Regions from separate parts of the Homo sapiens genome. Here all the other regions are linked to region 3. Evidence: promoter capture Hi-C in 16 types of primary human blood cells and fetal thymus (Javierre and others, 2016). All regions are on one chromosome and are shown on one strand. Each heading gives the region's core, a stretch centred on a gene start or on the middle of the fragment in contact. The rest is flanking DNA. Distances are from core to core; before and after follow the strand shown.

Evidence for each region. The method cuts DNA at HindIII sites, captures the fragments that hold promoters and counts their contacts. A CHiCAGO score of 5 or more calls a contact.
Region 1: a fragment that was not itself captured here is called in contact with the fragment with the promoter of SLC33A1 in region 3 in 2 of 17 cell types (naive CD4 T cells and total B cells); the score reaches 8.8 in naive CD4 T cells.
Region 2: a contact is called between a fragment that was not itself captured here and the fragment with the promoter of SLC33A1 in region 3, in 1 of 17 cell types (naive CD8 T cells). The highest score is 5.3, in naive CD8 T cells.

What each region holds. Positions count from the first base shown.
Region 1 is chr3:157,144,637-157,149,161 of GRCh38, forward strand. CCNL1 (cyclin L1) reads right to left here. Exons shown (of 11, transcript NM_020307.4): 11 at 2,917-3,953. The coding sequence ends at 3,605. Among named protein-coding and RNA genes, the nearest start is that of CCNL1, 13 kb to the right of the region's middle. RefSeq lists a silencer at 3,981-4,130. The HindIII fragment of the contact is 5,483 bases long and covers 284-4,525 here.
Region 2 is chr3:157,091,622-157,096,022 of GRCh38, forward strand. The region is part of intron 3 of LINC00880 (long intergenic non-protein coding RNA 880); the gene reads right to left. The region is part of intron 1 of LINC00881 (long intergenic non-protein coding RNA 881); the gene reads left to right. Among named protein-coding and RNA genes, the nearest start is that of LINC00881, 3.9 kb to the left of the region's middle. The HindIII fragment of the contact is 1,534 bases long and covers 592-2,125 here.
Region 3 is chr3:155,851,992-155,856,704 of GRCh38, forward strand. It overlaps SLC33A1 (solute carrier family 33 member 1), which reads right to left and starts at 2,436. Exons shown (of 6, transcript NM_004733.4): 1 at 1,232-2,436. The coding sequence starts at 2,006. LOC105374174 (a long non-coding RNA gene) reads left to right here and starts at 2,762. Exons shown (of 3, transcript XR_924607.4): 1 at 2,762-3,087. RefSeq lists enhancers at 2,024-2,093, 2,464-3,023. The HindIII fragment of the contact is 4,607 bases long and covers 1,677-4,713 here.

The DNA.
Region 1 (4,525 bases), core at 1,775-4,274, 1.3 Mb after region 3:
ACAATGAACGCTGCTCCGTTCCTATTTCCACATAGGGAAGTGATGCTCCCCTTCTCAAACCTCATGCACATTCTGTCTCTCCAAACCCTTCAGTATGCCCATGCATAAGACCCTCAATATGTCCATGCTTTTAACTTCATTTTAAAAAATCTGGTATGTAAATTTTGAAACTTATCTTCATAATCTATTACAGTTCATGATGAGTTAAGAAATGGCTCTTAGAACAAATGATTGTTATGATATTATTTTTGGAAACTCTCATGAAAACTAAATGTTTTAAGTAAGCTTTTGATGCAGACTGTGGTGTTAATAATGGGGTTATAAGTGGCAATACTTAAAAGCTATTAAAGCAAAACCTAGAACTTCAGTTCTAAGAATTAGTCATTTTTATGTTCGCTTTGTTTTAAAATGGGAACATGGTTAAGAATTTCACTGGTCTTTAAACTAAAGATACCAGCTGCAAAGGACAAATGTAATGTTCTATAACATGAAAGGACTTGTACTAAAAATCAGGATTTTGCCGGGCGCGGTGGCTCATGCCTGTAATCCCAGCCCTTTGGGAGGCAAGGCAGGTGGATCACAAGGTAAGGAGATCGAGGCCATCCTGGCTAACATAGGTGAAACCCCGTCTCTACTAAAAACACAAAAAAATTAGCCAGGGCGTGGTGGCAGGCGCCTGTATTCCCAGCTACTCAGGAGGCTGAGGCAGGAGAATGGCATGAACCTGGGAGTGGGAGCTTGCAGTAACCCGAGATCGTGCCACTGCACTCCAGCCTGGGAGACAGAGCGAGACTTCATCTCAAAAAAAAAAAAAAAAAAAAAAAAAAACCAAAACGGGATTTAATTTGTGGGTCATTTAAAGAAAAAAAGTATCAGGATCATTAGGACAAATAACATTTTCATTGCTGTAATGGGCCAACCAAAACATGAGACAGAGAACAGAGGGAAAAACAGATACAAAAGCCAGTGAGGTACAAGCACCAATGGATAAGAACTGAGAACTCAGTAAAATACCTGGTGGATGAGGCAGCAACCTAGTTTTCAGTTCTAAAATAACAGTCTGGGTGTCCAGGCTTCTAATTCCAGACAAGTAAAAAAATTAAACCTAAATCTGATCAAGCCTCAAGATCTACCACTTTACCACACAGTGGACAGAAAAATGTGTTCAGTGACAGCACAGAGTTACAATGAACAAACCCAGGAGACAAAAAATTCTTCAGGACATGACCCAATTTCTTCAAGTAAGAAATATGGAGAGGCCTGTGGTTAAAGCCGATGCAACATATTTGGACTTTGAACAAATCAGTTAAAACAAATTAGAGATGAGGGCTCTCTGGATACTGACAGGGGTAGTATGGCATTACTTTTAACTCTTACAATAAAGCTATATGGTTATGTTTTAAAAATCCTCAACCTTGTGGACTGAGACACTTGGGAACAAACTTTACTTGTATGGGATTTTCTTCCCAATAGCAAGGGTGGGAGGTGGAGTGGTGAACTGGTGGGGTACAGATTAAGTTTTGCTATTTTGGAGTTAATAAACAGGTATTATTGGTATTGCACAACTTTGTTTCTCAAAATAAGTTTGAAAATGAGTATTACTTCTAGAGAAAGTGTTTAAATAGCCATAGAGTGGCATGAGGTTAACATCCTGACAACTTAGAAAACGGATTCAGTAACAGACAATAAGATAAAAATCAAGACCCTGAAAAAGATCTTTGCCTAGCCCACAAAGCCACCTCTAAAAACACCTTTAACATACAAACCTCATTCCACATGCAGGTGTATCCTCCACAACTCCCCATCTTCACAAACAACCCTCACCCACAGCACTCCTATTTCCAAGCAAAGATTAGGGACATAAGTAATTTCAACACTATTAAGAATTTAATACTTGGGAGGCTGAGGTGGGAGGATCACTTGAGGCCAGGAGTTCGTGACCGACCTGGGCAACGTAGCAAGACCTCGTCTCTAAAAAAAAAAAAAAAAAAGTTAAAAAAAAAAATCAACATTAATTTGCTAACAGGGCCTTTGCTGACATTTGCCTTTGCCTTTCTTCAATGTCTATCTTGTAGGGGAAGCAAACTGTTCAGCATTTAGAAGCAGTTAGCTTTTCAGAAATATCTATTTATAATTCAGCAATGTGTATTACAAATCAGGCAGAAAGAAGTCTTAATGAACTATCTACCCTCTTTCAAGCATGAAGTGGCTAACTTTTGCTGGGTCTTGTTAGTTTCTGGTTAGTCTTTATAGTTAGAACTATAACTGATTTAAGTAGCACACCCAACACTTTTATATCCTAATGAATCTTAATCTCCTTCAAAGTAGTTGCCTTGTGAAGCTATTTTTTCCAGCCTCCACCACCTGCCATTGGTGAACACATTTTAAGTCTTTGGAATCTCCTCTTCAGAAGCTGTAACTTTATTTTTAAAAATATCCTTAGCAGTAATACATCTTCCTCTTTGTGGGTGTATTTTATTTCTTGAAACAGCAACAAATCACTTGGAGCCAAGTCTAGTGGACAATTAAAGTAGGTAAAATAAATGTAATGGAGACCTTAGTGTAATTATAAAGCGATGCAACATTTTGACTCTGTAAACTGATTTCCAAAATGTTGAAAAAAATAGTAAATGTGAGTAACTTGAAAACATTCATCTGGATAGAAATTCCGGCTTTTTCATCAAAACTTCACTTCTTTGTGATCAGCTTGTATTCTATCAACCACTCAAGTTCAGGGGCCTCACATTTTCTCCTAGCCTACGTAAAAATCGTAACATTAAATGCCTAAATTATACAGAACTGTTAAAGCTCAATAGTTACTAAGTTTTGGTTCATTCAATAGGGTACCTCATTTCAGAAATAGTACTTAAATCTGACTCAAAATTACCTTATGACACCATTCAAAAGCAAATCAGGTTTTTTGGTTTAGTGCTAAAATATAACATTTAATGTCACATTGTTGGGCGACTCCCATTTACTTTTTCCATATATACAGTGAAGACTTACAATAGCTCACAATGCAGTTAAGAATTGCATTTTAATAATCTCAAACTACCATCTAATGGAGGAAAGAATAAGTTTGTCAGAAAACCAGTACAGCCATTTTGCTATTAAAATTTTCCTTTTTAATAATTTATTTAAATAAGGTATTTGAAGCAGTTTAGAAAAAACAAGATTTGTATTTTATTTCCTTGTAAAAATCTTTACACATGCAGACAAACCAGTGTTAAGAAAGTATTCACCATCATTTAAACAAATAACCACTTAAATAGAACAGTGTCTGCAATTTTATCTGTATAAAAATAAGATACATTTTTACAGAATTCACGCTCCAGTTCTTATAGCAATAAACAATACACAACTATAATAAAGTACAATTGAACCTGACCATGGTTTTTAATTAGATACTGCTAGGGCATTTTAATGTGCAAAAAAATTAACATAGTTCTTTTCAAAAGAAACTGTCCTCAGTGTTCTAGAGACCTAGAGGGTTTCAAGAAATCAAATCCTAATCAGTTTGCGTTTAATGTTTTTGATTGAGTCCATACATCACACTGTAGATAGGCAAAACCAAGAACTGATGCAGGCTCAAAGGAAGAGAAAGTCAGCGCCTGTGCCTGCCATGTCCTGAGCGACTGCCACCATGGTGCTTGCTTTTATGGGACCTCTCAAAGGAGCGAGATCGTTCACGCCTGTCCCTATGATGTCCCCTTTCATGCCTGTGTTTCTTGGCTGCATCTGAGTGATCCCGAGACTTGCTCTGAGATCGAGAACGAGATTTTTTCCTTTTATGACCATGTCTGTTTGAACTTTTTAAATCATCTCTGGTATGCTTGGCCTTAAGGTGAGGAGAACCATGATTATGATGTCTTCGAGGGCTTTCACTGTGACTGCGGGACCTGCTTCTTGATCTCGAGCTGTATGTTCCAGATCGACTCCGCCTATTATTATAGCTTAGATAATAAAAATTTGAAGTTTAGGTTCAGTTTCTATGGGGAACAGATTATTCCGGTGGTTGCTCATAACAGGTTCAAAACAAAACTACCAGCTACATAAATGACAAACCAGAACTTTTCAAAATCTCCCCACCCCTCACTGCTGTATGCCCAAGCCTATATATAACATATTAAATCTTAAGCAAATGTTCTTATGTCTTTATTCCAAGGGGAGTAATTAGCAATTTTTATAGTGTCCTAGAGCTATGCTTTTTATTAAGTATCTCCCACATGTTCAAAAGACATTGAAGAGCCACGAAGAGCTAACAATCTAATTACAGGCCTAACTAAAGAAGATTCATTGACTGGTTAATTTGATTATTGGTTATTAATAAGGGGTTAATGAAACACATTTTCTAACTGAAATTAAAAAAAAAAAAAGAAGTTTTCACATTATGAACAATACTATGGCCCTCAAGCACTTTGTGGGTAGCTCCTACACTTCTCCAAAAAACATGGGAGAAAATATAACAGAATGCCATTAAGATACTGTATGTCCAGAACATCTCCAAACTCATTTCTCATAATTT
Region 2 (4,401 bases), core at 109-2,608, 1.2 Mb after region 3:
CATGTGGAGCTGTGCCCAGTGCTATTCAAATAATGTGAAATGGATACTGTTATTACCATGTCAGTCAGGACTATGGGTAGCAAGTGACTGAAACCCAGCTCTAACCACGGGATCCATGGGTTTGCTAAAAACTGGGTAGACTGGCTTTAGGCCCAGTTAGATTTCAGGTGCTTTAAAGGTGTTGTCATGTATGATAGGCATAATGTTTTGAAATTATCAATGTAGTTTTCTCTTTTGCCTTTCAAAGCATATGAACTTAGTCTACTCTAGGCATTTATCTGCCTAGGAAGAAATGAAAGTTCTTTCCAGAAAGTATGCAAAGAGAAAGAAAACATAACACTCAGCTTCTGGCATTCAAAAATAAATTTTGTAGCAAGGCAATAGCCATGTAATTCAAGCCCTTACCTTGAGAAAATATCCTGTACATTCCATTACCTTCCTCTTCAGAGGGTCAAGAACTGAGCTTGGTAGACTAAACCTTAGGGTTTTATATTCGAAAGGTCTAGACCAGGAGAAAGTGGGGATTATCAGAGGACAGAAGTAGCAGAATAAACAAGAGGCCTGAGTGGAGAGATTGTATTGGAAAAGTAAAGCTTAACCACAAAGGCAGAGGGAGATCGTTCCCCCACGCCCCCTCCAGAATTATGAGAGGAAGAGCCCAGTGTTGGTCGGGTAGCAGCAGGCCCTGCTATGGACTTTTCAAGCTCTGTCAGGTCCCTGGGAAGGCTAGATTCTACCCAGACATAGCAGAAAGCCTGTAGCCAGCTTGCCAGAGGTGATCATTGTAGTGAGGTGACTCAGTGGTTTGGGCTGCCGAGGAGACCCCTGGGACCAGGGTTGATAGGAAGTCATGGACAGAAGTCGGAGTCTGTAGCAGCAGGAAAAGCAGAGAAGGAGCTAAGCCAGTCAGGAAACACCTTTGGGAGCACTGCTTCAGATCACCTCAGATGGACACAAGCTCCCCATCCACAGACCCCCACATCAGAGGCTTGCAGTGCACCCAGGACAGACAAAAAGTGGATGTTGTCTCAAAATAATCACATACAAGGCAGCTATGCTCAAGGACCAGTACAAGGACAAAAGTTCCCTTCCTCTCAACACCATGAGGACACAGAAAAGACACACACCACCATACTACCTCCACCCCAGCACACCCTACCTGGATGACGATCAAAACATTTAAAAATCCTTACAGGCTCAGGCGCTGAGGAGTATAAATGGAGATGTCTTACTATGTCCAGAGTTAACCCTTTAGTTGATGGATTATGAGGAGCAGGGACCTCAGGGCAGAACCTGTTTACCAACTGCTCCATGCATACTTTAGTATTTTATCAATGAGGGCAGCCATAATGCCATGTACCTGTTGAATATTGGCCATGCATCCAGATGGCATCTTTATAGGAGGGGAAGGAGAAAGAGGAAGCCATCTGAGAAAGCGAGCATGTTCTCAATGGGGATATTGAATTATTGGATTGAATCAAGATTTAAACCCTAACTAGTGAAGGACCAGACTGGTTATGGACAAACTAGAGAAATTACATTTTATTGGCACATCCAAGTTGCAGTATGAGTTGAATTTACCATCTGTCAGCTTTCTTTGTGTTAGTTTCACTCTCAGGTAGAAGCTCCAAGCATCAGCATACCAAAGGGCAAAGAATCTCTTTCTTAATAGTGCCTGCAAAATCCCAGTCAGGCTCACATTGGCTTAGCTTTGGTAATGTACCCATCTCTGAACCAAGCCCTGATTGGCCAAGCCCAGGTCACATAACTATTCCTAGCGTCATGAACTGAAAGTGGAGTGAGAGGTGGCTCCCCTAAAGAAAATCAAAAGGCTGTGAGCAGAAAAATGGGGTAATGAATGTTGGGTAGGCAGGCACAACAGATAGAACCACTATTGCCTTCTGGAGTTTAACTCTCTAAAACTCAGAAAGCACAGTATCTCCATGGCAGGAAATGAATTGGCACCTGAGCACTTATTCATACATCGATCAGTGTAGAAAACTAACTTTGAAAATCATAAAGCAGATTTATTTTTCCCTCTTAAATTTTCTTCCCACACTGATTAAATTAATTTTAATAATTAGAGTTGGGAAATATAATCAACTAAATATCTAGTATAGTTTAAAGCTTGGTATAAGCTATAAATAGTTCCACTTAGGAAATGCTCAGTCTCCCTTTTTATTGATGTGAAGACAATAACTGTTTTACTTTTTCTCTGTGTATTATTTTCTCTTTTTTAAGAATCACCTTCTTGTTGGGCATGGTAGCTCACACCTGTAATCCCAGCTACTTGAGAGGCTGAGGCAGGAGGATTGCTTGAGCCCAGGAGTTAGGGGCTGCAGTGAGCTATGATTGCACCACTGCAGTCCAGTGACAGAGAAAGACTCTGTCTCTACAAAAAGAAAGAAAAAAAAAACCATAGAATCAACTTCTCCTAAATCCAAGATGAACTGCACAATTAATTTATTGCCTATTTTTAAAAAAGGTTTTTGTAATAAACAAAAGTTAATTATTCCAGATACAAAGAGATCGTAATGGCAGCATCAGCTTTTCTTCACAGACTCTTATTTTCAATGTCACAAAACACTTCCACATAAATTTTTAAATCCACATGATTTTAAAATCAGCCCTAAGTAAAAGGAGATATTTAAAGTCTAGAAAAAGGAAACATAGTCATCAGTTTTACTCCAAAATTTATGCTGTCTTTTGGAAAGAATATTGTTTCATAAAGGATATCTTGATATTTACAATATATAAAACTTAAATCTCAGAATTGAAAAACTCTTTGGGAAAAAAAGTATTAATCATAATAAAGGAAATAAACTCATCATCCTCTAGTGTCTGAGTCACATAATTAATTCAGAAGGGGCTGGCTTTCTCTGCATGTGGGATCCCAGGTATTCATTTATGCATCAAATATTTATCACACCCTTCATAGCTTCTCCGCACTGTGCTGGGCACTGGGGATGTGAAGATGAGTGAGACAGGCTCATGTCTGGGAAGAATGGAGACAGATGGAGAACACAGAGCTCTATGCTGCGGGTATAAGGGCATAATGAGGGCTTGCAAGAGGAACAGTTCGTTTTCCGGGGGTGATGGCTCAGAGACAAGCTGGGATACTAAGCTGCCTGAAGGGTTTGCATTTCCCATGGTGCCCAGTGCAGTGCCGAGAATGAACTTGTAGACCCTTTATTGCTGTGGCTAAGATGGAGGAGGTTTGGAAATCTTTGACAGCTGAGCCCTGTGACAGAAGAGAACAAGAATTCCTGGTCCTCCCAACACCTCGGTATGTGTACTCTGGTGCTGATGTTCAAGGTCGTGGTCATTCCAGTCATGCATTCAGCAGGCAGTCACTGAGCACCTACCAGACACTGCTCAAGCAAAGCAGACTAAAACCTCAAGGAGCTTACTCCTAAAGTAAGCTATACGTTTTGCTATATATTGTGTATCAAAATGCTGATTAATGCTATGGAGAGAAAGGAAACAGGAAATGGGAAAGCAGGGATTATAGGTTGAGGGTTATGTAACATGAAATGGGGTCTTTAAGAAGTCTGAACTGAAGACAGCTCCCTCAGTTACCTAAGCACCAACAACTGTGGCTGGTGACACATTAGGAGCCCTGCAAAGAAAGTGGCCAGCCACCTAATCCCAGAGTTTCCAGGAAGTGGCCAGTTGGAGCCAAGACAGGGTGGTGTGCATCCTCCTTCATACCCCAAGAGTTTTATTATGTGGTGAGTGGAGCTGGTACAGCCAGAGTCTGAAGCAGTCGAGAGGGCATGCCTGGGAAGGTAACAGTCCTTTGTTCTGGAAATGATGAGAAGGTTTGTTTAGATGTAGTCAGGTCCCCAGGCAATGTCTTCTGGGGAAGAAGAGCATCCAGCTCCCTAAAGGAAAGATTTGGCAAGGCCAAGAGAGAAGGTCAAGGCCCTGACCAAGAGAATCAGAATGGAGCATAGATGCCACATCGCTGGAATGGGCTAGGAGGAGTGAGCACATGGGGTACAGGCCCCATCTTTCATGGGCATCAGGCTACAGCTGGGAGGGGAGAAAAGAGAACTTAGGGTCATGTGTAGACCTTTAGGCTGGAACAGAGGGTTGGTATAGGATGACCAGGTTACAGGGGCTTTGGAATCAAGTCAAGGAATATGTGTTTTTCTCAGATCTACTAACACTGGCTCAGGTGTATCTTTGCAGTAGCCAGGACTTGCTTGTTCTGTCATCTGTGTAAGCACCACAGTTCTTTTCTTTTCCTTTTTCTTTGGAGGGGGGGTGGGTGGGATGGAGTCTCACTCTGTCACCCAGGCTGGAATGCAGTGGCATGATCTCCACTCACTGCAACTTCCAGCTCCCTGGTTCAAGCGATTCTTCTGGCTCAGCCTCCCGAGTAGTTGGGACTACAGG
Region 3 (4,713 bases), core at 1,186-3,685:
AGCACAGAAGCTGAGAAGTTCAGTTGCTTAAATTTCAAAACAGAATCCCCTAAATTCATCATCACTGACAGAATGAAGAATTTCACTATATTCCTGACATTGTTATTCCTGATATTGGTCATTTTACTTGTTTTCTAGTTGTTACAAAAGTTAAAAACAAACAAACAAACAAAAAAGCTTAGGCCAGGTGGGGTGGTTCACACTTATAATTCCCAGTACTTTGGGAGGCCAAGGAGGGGGAGAATCACCTGAGGCCAGGAGTTCAAGACCAGCCTGGCCAACATAGTGAGACAGCCCCCCCGACCCCCAACTATCTCAATTAAAAAAAAGAAGAAAAAAGAAAAAAGAGAAAAACTTACATGTGTTTTACTCATGCAGAGAAACAGGGAAATTTTTTAGAACTTACCCTCCATTACTTACAGGACAAACTTTAAACTCTTTTCCCATAGTAATTAAAGAAAATCTTACTAATTTAGTCACAGCCTTTCTCAGCACGATTTCCCAAACCCAGTTCCACAATTTAGGCAATGTCCTGTACTTTTTTGTACTTTCCTGCCTCAGTGCACTTTTACTTTGTGTTGTGCATTCTGGTGTGCCATTTCCTGGCCTCGTGGAATCTTATTCAAGAACAAAGTCAAATGTTATCTGCAATGTGAAGCCTGACTCCCAAAGGCAGTTACTAACTGGCAACTCTGAACTCTCCTAAAATGTTCATCTTCCTTATTTCTTGAGTGCAGAACTCTGCCTTATTCATTAGAGGCCTTAGAATCCCGTCCCTTAGCTGGTTCAATAATGTTTGAACGAATAAACCCTGTTCCATTCACTAGAAGGCTGGATTCTGGGTACAACGGTAGGGGTAGAAATGGATTAGAAAGTATAGAGCTAGAAACCTAAAACCAACAAGACAAAAGGAAAAATGTGAACCATATGAGCCACACTTTTTAAAAGTGTGCATTTGTGTATTAAGCAAGTGGCATGAATCCCTGGACTCGGTTGTGTTATTTGATGGGTTGCCTCTCCCTGTTAACCGCATAGTGATCATTTGATTGCTCTAATATCATTCATTTTGGCTTTAATATTTCAAAGAAGCTCATTTGGACGAAACAGAAAACTTACCTTGAGTTATCTCCCATACAATGATTTCCAGTAAATTAATGAGCTTCCCTCCAACGTCACACACTCTTTCAAAAGGATAAATAAACCTAACACCATAATAGCTTAAATACACTACCTGAAAGAGTAACGATTCCTCTGGGTTGAGGCTGAAACCGCAAATATTTGTTACAAAAGTCGGCAGATTCAAGGGCCAAAAACAAAACATTGCCCAAAAAGTAACCCGCTGTTTGGCCCACCGAATTGCAAGTAGAAGCATAACCCACATTTTCCCTGGATAACATAGTTAACGCCCAACCATCGACGGCAATGTCCTGAGTGGCGGCCAAGAATTCAAACAAAAAGAACGCCACAGTGAGAGCAATCACGTCGGGTGTTCTGTCATCGGTATTCCCAAGCAAACGGTCCACCTGAGTGGATAAATAGATCATGAAGAGTCCTAGTATATACTGTGTCGGGACAAGCCAAGATTTGCGACGACCGAAGTTCTTAACGTAGACCGCATCAACCAACGGGGCCCAGAGTAATTTGAGACTGAAGGGCCAAAAGACAAAACTGAAGAAAGCTTGGTCTGTATAGCTAACATTTTTGCTTTGCAAAATGAGTGGGATGCTTCCCGCCAAGCCCAGGGGAATACCCTGAAGCACGTAAAGAAAGAGTAGTAGCAAAATGCTGCTTAGTTCGGCCCGGAAGCTCTGTGGGGCTTTTAAGAAGTCGCCAGTGCCGGTATCCCCCAGAAGAGCTTCTCTGTCCCCTTCCCGGCCCGCTGAGTCCAAATGACTGTCATCCCAACCGCCTGGCGGCAGGGGACCGCTCTTCATATCCAGAGAGTGACTGAAATTCCCTGGCCGCCGTTGCCGGCTGCTGTCCTTGTGGGAGATGGTGGGTGACATATCAGAGACGATGCAGAGCCCCGTCTGTGGGGGGCCGAGGCTGAGCGTTTTGGATCCGTCCAGTCCCAGGTCCAAGGCTGTCGCGCTGGACCAGGGTTTCGGTGGTTCACGGGATGGTGGCAGGGCTCAGAGCGATAAGGGCACTTCTTACTGCAGCCCGGAGTGCTGAAGCCGGGAGCCAGTCCTCTGGCTAGAGGCCCAGAGGATGCCTGGATAGGTGCCCCCTGGAACGGCGTCAAAGAGCCTGAAGGAGACCCCCGGGCAGCAGCGCCGGGCTCGAGGCTGGAGGTGTGTGCCGTGGTGCCAGGATGGAAACCAGCTCCTACCTGCGGCGGGATCGAACGGCTGGTCTCCCGACCCAACACCTCCAGCTCTCGCTGCTATCAATGCGGCAGAGAGCACTTTCTCTACAGGACTCCAGAAAAAGCATATAACTTCCTGCCTCGCGCTTCAGGAAGTGGTCCCAGTCTCTAACAGGTCCCTTCCCAGCCTCCAGAGCAAGCCAATCAGGGACACGCTCTCGTGGCCCAGTTCGGAAACAATGCTTGGTGGGAACCTGCAATCTTGGCTGCCGGAACCTTCGGGGAGGATTAACGCCGGCGCACCGTGCGGCCGGGGCGGGGCGCCGCCCAAACTCAGGCCCTGTGACAGCGACTGTGGCGGTCTGGAAAGCGTGGGCCTCGGTCATTGGGCACGAGCGGTCACGTGACAGCGGGTTCCTCCAGGCCAGCGCTGGTGGTTGAGTGATGTAATCACGTGGGGTCTGAAGTCTTCGTGGGTGTAGGTTTCTTCGTTATGCTGACGACAGGCAGTGCCCGAACTCTAGGCTGGGAGTTGTGCCATGCTGCTGCTTTCGTGGGCTGACCAGAAAAGGGTAGAAGGATTGACGTTTACGAAGTTTTTGAATCAGGAGGCAAGGTCGCCTTGTGCCCCCAAAAGGATAGAAAAAGGCCTGGCAAACTGGAGAATCGCGTCCTTACGGTGCCTACATATTTATAGTACGAATTAAACTGCTCAAGGGGTGCTAGGTTTGTCTGCAGTCCGTTTCTCCCTCATGGTGGAAGACGCGTGGGGAAACTTGGTAACCAACTCTAATTACATTGGTGATTGGAAGACTCGTTACATCCTGTTTTTATGTTGCAATAAAACGTCTTGTGGCCGGGCGCGGTGGCTCACGCCTGTAATCCCAGCACTTTGGAAGGCCGAGGCGGGCGGATCACCTGAGATTGGGAGTTCAAGATCAGCCTGACCAACAAGGAGAAACCCGTCTCTACTAAGAGACGTACAGGAATTTGAGAATCTGATTAATTTTTTTTCTGCTCTCTCACCTCTGGCAGAAAGATTATTATTTTTTTTTCTTTTGAGAGGAATCTCACACTGTCGCCTGGGCTGGTGTTCAGTAGGGCCATCTCGGCTCGCTGCAGCCTCCACCTCCCGGGTTCAAGCGATTCTCCTGCCTCAGCCTCCCGAGTAGCTGGGACTACAGGCACGCGCCACCACGCCCGGCTAATTTTTGTATTTTTAGTAGAGACGGGGTTTCACTATGTTGGCCAGGCTGGTCTCGAACTCCTGACCTCGTGATCCGCCTGCCTCGGCCTCCCAAAGTGCTGGGATTACAAACGTAATGGCAGGCTAGGCACAGTGGCTCACGCCTATAATCCCAGAACTTTGGGAGGCCGAGGCGGGTGGATCACGAGGTCAAGAGATTGAGACCATCCTGGCCAACACGGTGAAACCCCGTCTCTACTAAAAATACAAAAAATTAGCTCGGCCTGGTGGCGCGCGCCTGTAGCCCCAGCTACTTGGGAGGCTGAGACAGGAGACTCGCTTGAACCTGGGAGGCGGAGGTTGCAGTGAACCGGGATCGTGCCACTGCAATCCAACCTGGCGACAGAGTGAGACTCCGTCTGGAAAAAAAAAAAAAAGGCAACTGTAAAGTCCTCTAATCTTTGTTAAGTAGAAGAATAGATTGCAGAAAAGAACAGTGTTGGCCGGGCGCGGTGGCTCACACCTGTAATCCCAACACTTTGAGAGGCTGAGGCGGGCAGATCACTTGAGGTCAGGGGTTCAAGACAAGCCTGGCCAATATGGTGAAACCCTGTCTCTACTAAAAATACAAAAATCAGCTGGGTGTGGTGGCTCATGCCTGTAGTCCCAGATACTCGGGAGGCTGGGGCTGGAGAATCGTTTGAACCCGGGAGGCGGAGGTTGCAGTGAGCCGAGATCATGCCATTGCACTCCAGTCTGGGTGTTAAAGAAAAGAACGGTGTCATTTAAGTCCAATCAAGATTAAACCAAAACAACCATGAGTGGGATTTATATTGTGCTGGATTCAAACCCTGGCTCTAACAGTAGTTGTGCCTTGGACAGATTACTTAACCTAAGCCTCCATTTTGATGAAAATTAAAATAGAGTTCATAACATCTATTTCAGAGAGTTGTGGGAGTTAAAGGAAGCAGCCAATAAAGCCATTCACAATCAGTAGGTGTTTTTTTTTTTTCCAAAAAAAAAGGAAATACTTGATGAGTTTGTATGTCTTGTGTTTGATTTTTTCCCCTTCTTTAATTTGAAATAATTATAGATTCACAGGAAATTGCAAATATAGCAGAGTCCCATATACCCTTCACCCACCTTCCTCTGATCATTGCCTCTTACGTGATTATAGTACAATATTAAAACCAGGAAACTGACATCTGTAAAATATTGT